Linked DNA regions of Homo sapiens: region 2 is linked to region 1. The links are contacts of gene promoters, found by promoter capture Hi-C in blood cells and fetal thymus (Javierre and others, 2016). All regions are on one chromosome and are shown on one strand. The core of a region is centred on a gene start or on the middle of the fragment in contact, and the rest is flanking DNA. Distances in the headings are between cores, read along the strand shown.

Region 1 (3,822 bases), core at 832-3,331:
CATTGTTACCTGTCTCCAGGAATAACATATTATCCTGGACTAACATTTAAAAGACGTTCAATCTCACAGTAAGCACACAAATGCAAATGAAAACAATGACATAACATTTTTTGCCCATTAGATAGGGAAAAAAATTTTTAAACCTACATTATCCAGACTCCTTCCCTCGCCGCACTGCAGGCTAACCTGAATCCATCTTAATCTAACTAAAGGCCATATCATTAGTTCTAGTTCCAAAGCCACCAATTTTAACTACTGAAGCTTTACCTTGGCATAACCAAAAAGATCCAATAAAGTGGTTTTCTCCAAACAAAGGAGTCTGCCCTCAAAGGAATATTCAAGCTTCGGGGATGGGGGGAAATGCCTGAAGCTTTTAATATGGCAGTTTTTCCACGTCTAGCCAACAGTGTTTCTCCAATAAATCTTGGGATCCAATCTGGCTTGATTTGTGGGCTTTTCCATTCTAATGCATTGTTCTGTCCGTTCTAATTTAAATAGTTCCTTTAGAGTACATTTTAATAGCCAGTAGTACAAATATCCCTATCTTTACTTACGTTTTAAAATATTTTTTTTCAGTTATTCTTAGCCATTTTTTTCCCCCGGATGAACTTTAGAATCATAGTAAGTTCCAAAAAAACTTGGTATATTTATTGAAATTGCATCAACTGTATAAACCAATATAGGAAAAATGGACATCACTAAAATATTGAGCCTTCTTATTCAGAAGCATAGTATTCCTTCTCTTTTCATGCAGATGTTCTTTTATGGTATTCGTCAATAAAGTTTTATAGTTTACTTCTAGGTATTTTTATTCGTTTCTCTTGCTATTGCGAACAGGTTTTTTATTATTAAAATTTCAAAATGCTTATTGCTTATAGATAGGAAAACTGCCTATATAAACTATTGATATTTGCCTATTTACAAACAAAAATATGATCAATTTCGCCAGTAATCAGGGAAATGCAAATGAAAACAATGACATACGATTTTTTTGCCCTTTAAATTGGCTAAAATTACAAAGATTGATAATACGTGTTGGCATAACTGTGGAAAAATAGGCACTCTCGCACAACATTAAAGAGTGTAAATTAGTACAGGCTTTTGGGAAGGCAATTTGGACAAATCTATCAAAATTCAAAATGCATATACACCCTGACCCAGCGGTTACTCTTCTAAGAATTTCTCCTACAGAAATACTCATACATGGCATGATACATATACACAAACCCATTCATTATGGCATTGCTTGTAATAGTCCCCTCCCTCCCCCAACAGAGAAACAAGCTAATGTATATCAATCGGGAAATGGTTAAATAAACTGTAGTACAATCATACAATGCAGCTGTTTAAAACCCAACATAAATTTGGATTCCCGGATATAAGAAGATCTACAAGACATATTCTCAGATTTTTAAACAAGCAGTTAGTCGAAATGAATGTGTGTGTGTGTGTAGTACCATTTAGATATCAAAACATATATATGCAACGCCTAGTAGTTACCCGCGAAGCCTGCCTGCCCGCCCCTCACCTTCCCTCTCCTCTGAGGCCGCCTTCCTCGAACCAGTGAGAAACGCTGAAGGCCCGGCCTCTACTCTCTCTTTAGGGCCACTTGGCCATGGCTAATGCCGGTACCTCGCATCCCCTCTGTCAGCCGCTCTCTCGCCGCGCCGCCGGCAGCTGCCGGGCTGCCCCCGAAGATGCGGCTAGCTCTCCGCTGGCGCCTGCCGAGGCCTGGGGGAGGGGAGAGGAGGCGGGGTTCAGGGAGGGTTGGGGCAGGCCGCCCTGCCCCTCCAGCAGCCTTTCCCGCAGGCTCCCCAAGGCCGCCACCTCCGCGCCTCCGCGCAGGGTCCCGTGGGAACTCCCCCCCCAACCTCGCCACTGCCACCCGCGAGAAACCGAGAACGGCCGCGCGTACAGAGCTCGCCCTCCAGCCCAGGGATAGACGCTCACCTCGGCCGCAATGGCTCCGCGGGGCCCGCAGGAGCGTGCGGGGTCCGCGGCCCTGCTTCAGCCCTGCTTCAGCCCTGCTCCAGCCCTGCTCCAGCCCTGCTCCAGCCCTGCTCCCCTCGCTAGCCCTCAGTCGAAAGCCTCCTCGCTTCGGCTCAGCTCAAACTCGATTTGGGGCTCCACCCACCGCAAGCGAAGCCCCGCCCCTGCCCCTCGGGAGGGAGCTCCCTCCGCGGTGAAGTCGGGTCCCTTGCAGGGGACCGCGCCTGAGCTACCCAAGGCCCAGTAAATGCAACCATAGAGGATGATAGGGTCGCTAAGAATTGGGATTTGATTCGAGGCACGGTGGAAGCCGCGGAAGGGAACATGATTTGATCTGATTTACCTTTAAAAATTAACGACCTCGCCAGATGCCTTGTGAAGAATGGGGAGTGTGGGGCAAGAGGGCAAGGCTGGACCCAGAGCGGAGGGTGGGAGACGACGTGGGAAGCCGACCACCCAGAGTTCACGCGAGCAAACCCTTAAAACACTTCAGGCACATAGTAAGCCCTCAATAAACATTCTTTTTTCCTCCTTTAATTATTTGGAACGGCAGTGCGATTGACAAGGATCCTGTAGAGGATCTGCATCTGTAAATACATGGGAATAAAAAGGACCTGGTGGGAGATCACCTGTTAACCCTACTTAATTATTGTGGGCTGCGGACGACATTGGAGGGGCGAAGAACTTTGACTTGGAACTCTAGCTACTTCGATAAGGTTTCAATTTTTAATAAAAAGTATGTATTAATTTAGTATTTAAAGACAAAAGCACTATTAAAAGAACTCCTGAGACATCGAGGAAATAAAAACTGTGATTATACCCTCCACTTCTCTAATTCCAGCCCTCCAGAGCAGTGGTTCATCCCTCGAATTGAGAATCTAATGAATGGGTCCCCCACCCCAATATATACTTACACATAAAATTTTGTATATGATCTCAGGAGATGTACAGGGCCCCTTCGAGATACACTGTTTCATTGAATATTTTTACAATTTTTTTTTTTTGAGACAAAGCATCACTCTGTCACCCAGGGTGAAGTGCAGTGGCACGGTCACGACTCACTGCAGCCTCGACCTCCTGGGCTCAAGGATCCTCCTGCCTGCCTACAGTCTCCCAAGTAGCTGGGCCTCCAGGTATGCGCCACCACGCCTGGATAACTTTTTATTTTTTGTAGAGGCGGGGTCTCACTATGTTGCCAGGCTGGTCTCAAACTCTTAGGCTCAAGCAGTTCACCCGCCTCGGCCTCCCAAAGCGCTGGGATTACAGGCGAAAGACCCGGCCCATCTGTAACATTTAGTGGCAACATGAAGCTATACTTTCTTTAGCATGTAATTAACTTCGGTTGTTCTTTTTTCATTTTAAAATTGGTTTCCTAATTACACATGATTATTGTAAAACACGGATAAATTTAAAGTTCCCCTTACATTCATATACACAAATAGAAAAGCATGGCTTTGTTTTTGTTTTTCATTTAAAAAATAAATAGCATCCTTTTTATGTATTGTTATGTTAATTGCTTTATTCACTTAATGTAGCTTGAAGATCTTTCCATGTCAATATATATAAATCTACCTCATTTATCTTACCTACTGCATAGTATTCCATTGAATGAATATACTGTAATCATTCATCTATGGATAAACACATGTTATTTTCAATCTTTGACTATTACAGTGGGGTTTTTTTTTTACTGTTAACAATGCTGCAATAAAATTCCTTGTACATGCTTTTTTCTGCAGATGCTAAAATATTTCTGTGAGATAAACATGGAGAAATGAAATAGTTGGATAAAGGTAGCACACATTTTTTTTTTTTAAGATAGTGTCTCACTGT
Region 2 (3,822 bases), core at 602-3,101, 350 kb after region 1:
ATAAAAAGAATGTTCATTCCAATTTTTCTGTACCAAAAAAAGAGAATGACTGGTGTACAGTAATGATATGTTAGTCCATCCATCCCTCAGTATCAGAAGCTATCACACTCCGCAGAAGGGGAAGGAATCAAGACAGGATAATGTTCTAAATCAGTGGTTCTCAAGGGTGGGCCCTTCTTACCTACTGAATCAGAAATACTGTAGCTAGGGCATCCCTAACTTGTGTTTCATCAGGTCTTCCAAGTGAGTCTGATACATGCTGAAGTTTGAGAACCACCGCTGTACAAATCAAAGTGTTTTTGCAAAATCCAGCTTCTTACAGGAAGAATGAAGCAATACCATGTTTTTTGCACTTCTGAGAACCTGGGCTCTGGAATCAAATAATTCAAAGTTCAAATCCACACTCAGAAAGTCACTTAACTTCCACGAATTCCAGATTCTCAGCTGCAAAATGGAATAGTTGCCTCGCTTGTTATAACCTTTCCAAAAAGTAACTTGGCATTATATTCCATAATCCCTAGCTGGACTTCAAGAAATCTATCCTACAAAAGTCACTAGAGGCCGGGCATGGTGGCTCACACCTGTAATACCAGCACTTTGGGAGGTCAAGGTGGGTGGATCACGAGGTCAGCAGTTCGAGACCAGCCTGACCAACATAGTGAAACCCTGTCTCTACTAAAATACAAAAATGAGCCGGGTGTGGTGGCGCGCACCTGTAATCCCAACTACTCAGAAGGCTGAGGCAGGAGAATCACTTGAACCCAGGAGGCAGAGGTTGCAGTGAACCAAGATCGTGCCACTGCACTGCAGCTTGGGCAACAGAGTGAGACTCTGTCTCAAAAAAAAAAAAAAAAAAAAGAAGTCACTAGAGATATGAACAGATTTCTATCACCTCTAGGTATCTGTGGATTTAAAATTTGTTGGCTTAACTCTTGCAAGCAACCATAAAAAGTCCACAGTATGTAGTAATTTCCAATTGTGCTGAAGTACAAACTTAAATGGCGCACTATAAGCCTGGTGTGTTTCTGTGAGCAATGCACTGAGTAAGCAAGAGCAGCCACCCCCAAGGACCTGATTCTCAGCTAGCTTCCTTGTTCAGTGGGGGCCCATAGAGAGAAGCAAAAGAGATTTTTAAAATTTGGTGTATTTCATGGAAAAAAATTAAGGCAGTTAACTTGTGTTAGAGTGTACACAGAAACACACAACTCACCACAGAAATGTGATTAAAGAGGGGCCTGGCCCATAAGCCCATTTCTGTATTTGTAAGTTTAGAATTCTTTAAGGCCTCAATGGTGCTCCTTATAAATAAATGTCAAGTATCTACTAGGCAAAGATGCTTTCCATAATGTTTTTGTTTTAATCAGCACTCATATCAAGATGCAAAACCTTTCCAGAACGCCCAAAGTTTCCTCACATTATTTATAATATAAAAAAGTACAAATAATGTTCAAAAAAGTACAATGTCCAACCATAAAGGAAATTACCAAATTAACCGGTGACACATATATATTGTGGGATATCAGAAATCAAGTTTAGCTGAATATTTAATGAACTGGCAATTACATTGTAACATTAACTAGAAATAAAAAATAGGTTGTAAAATGGTATTTATAACGCAATCCCATCTTGTAAAAATATGTTTATATTCTAAGTCAAAAGATGGGAGTTAATGCAACAACAAATTTAACAGTGGATTGTGCCAGACAGTAGTAGACTTAGGTGAGTTATATTTCCTTCTTTATTCTTTTTCTGTGTTTTCTACAACAAGCAGGTCTCACTATAAGAGCAAGAAAAAATTAAGAACATTATTTAAAAGAGAAATATCCAACTTTCAGGCTTGCATATAGACTAAATAATTTGTCCCAAGTCCCTGTCATGGGGTCCGGCAGACATAAGCAGTCAGGAAGCATTCATTCCTGTTCCCTGTTTCCAGAGTGAGGAGTTAGCAGGAGCCCATTTTACAGGTCTGAACCTACACATTTCCCATACAATCCAAAGTAAGGGCCCCAGGCAACAGCTTTTTTTCATGAAGACTCATTAACTCATTCAAAAATGTACTCAGCATCTATTACATGTTTAGCACTGAACTAGGTTCTGGGGATACCAAAAATGAAAAGAAGACATCTCTGCCCTCAGGAAGCTCTGGCTAACGAATGACACAGATATATTTATAACTATGATATGATTAAATAATTACTTTTTAATAAAGACGCACACAAAGTGCAATGGGAACCAAGAGGAAGAAGGACTTTTACACCTTTTACAGTCTGTGAGTTGCAAAGGGGAGAGGGCATTAGTGGGAGTTTGCACGTACAAAGACAAAAAGGCATAAAGGAGTATAAAATTTTCCCAGAACTATAGGTAGTTCAGTCTTGCTAGGACATAAAGAACAAGAGAGGAGGAGTGGCAGGAAATGAGAATAAACAAGTAGATCACAAAAGGTCTTGTCTGTCATATAAAGGATACTGAATTTTATCCCAGAGACGAACCACTGAAAGAAGAATGTTAAGCTGAGGAGTGACTTGATCAGCACTAGCAAAGACACCAGGAATCCTGAAAGACATCTTAATCCCCACTTATTTTCAGGGCAAAGGAAAAGGTCCCACCCTCTAGGGTTGTCCCCTCTTAAATAACATGAGGCAGTAAAACAGAACTCTGTGCCGGGCACACAATAAATATTCAATAGAGATCAGTTAAACATGAATTTGGATACGGGGCAAGGGGGCAGTCCCTGCTGAGGGCAGGATTTTAGCAGCACCAGCACCTATAGTTTGGTCTTGAGTGTGATAAACAGAAATAGCTTGCTGGGCATAGTGGCTCATGCCTGTAATCCTAGCACTGTGGGAGGCTGAGGCGGGCGGATCGCTTGAGGTCAGGAGTTTGAGACCAGCCTGGCCAACATGGTGAAACTCCATCTCTATCAAAAAAGTACAAAAAAATTTGCCGGGCGTGGTGGCGTGCACCTGTAATCCCAGCTACTCGGGAGGCTGAGGCACGAGAATCGCTTGAACCCGGGAGGCAGAGGTTGCAGTGAGCTGAGATCATGCCATTGCACTCCAGCCTGGGTGACAAGAGTGAGACCTTGTCTCAAATAAAAAAAAAAAAAAAAGAAAAAAGAAAAAAAGAAAAAGAAATAGCCCCTCTGGAGGAGACCAGACAACTGAAAATTCTAGAATCTAACAAGCAACAGGAGGAGGGTGCCATACACTGTTTTGTTGTGCTCCAGTGTACAAAGCCCCCTCAAGGTTGTCTTTCCATAGCTGAGATTTAAATCCCATTAATGAAATATTAGTTTTATCGTACACACTAACCTCTCCGGAATTCTGGGTGACAGGTGCTTATGTGCACACACGGTTAACTGAAGGAAATTCATCAGTGGTTTTACTCCTGTTTTACCCAGCATCTATTCTGCTTAATTCAATTTAGTTGGATGGTGCTGCAGATAAATGCTGTAGAAATAAAATACTCTTCCATTTCTGCCTCCATTTATGGAGTACATCCAAACTGCTTTGCAAAGTCAGAAAGGATGTATTTGATAACATTTTATAGCTGAAGACAATGAGGCTCAGAAAAGCAAAGCAACTTGTGCATGGTCACTCTGAAACTAAGTACAAAGCCACAACTTAAATCCCTGTTTATGGACTCAACTACCTCAAATAAGCAACACTGTTTTCCCAAAAGCCAGTGTGTGAGGCAGAACATAATTGTCAGACTATAAAAATGATGACCGGGCACGGTGGCTCACGCCTGTAATCCCAGCACTTTGGGAGGCCGAGGCAGGCAGATCTCCAGAGGTCGGGAGTTCCAGACCAGCCTGATCAA

What was found. The method cuts DNA at HindIII sites, captures the fragments that hold promoters and counts their contacts. A CHiCAGO score of 5 or more calls a contact.
Region 2: a contact is called between a fragment that was not itself captured here and the fragment with the promoter of HUWE1 in region 1, in 1 of 17 cell types (fetal thymus). The highest score is 5.7, in fetal thymus.

What each region holds. Positions count from the first base shown.
Region 1 is chrX:53,684,638-53,688,459 of GRCh38, forward strand. HUWE1 (HECT, UBA and WWE domain containing E3 ubiquitin protein ligase 1) reads right to left here and starts at 2,082. Exons shown (of 84, transcript NM_031407.7): 1 at 1,951-2,082; 2 at 1,633-1,731. RefSeq lists an enhancer at 1,426-1,505 and silencers at 1,716-2,015, 2,089-2,263. The HindIII fragment of the contact is 15,452 bases long and covers 369-3,822 here.
Region 2 is chrX:54,038,296-54,042,117 of GRCh38, forward strand. The region is part of intron 2 of PHF8 (PHD finger protein 8); the gene reads right to left. Among named protein-coding and RNA genes, the nearest start is that of PHF8, 4.3 kb to the right of the region's middle. The HindIII fragment of the contact is 5,961 bases long and covers 1-3,822 here.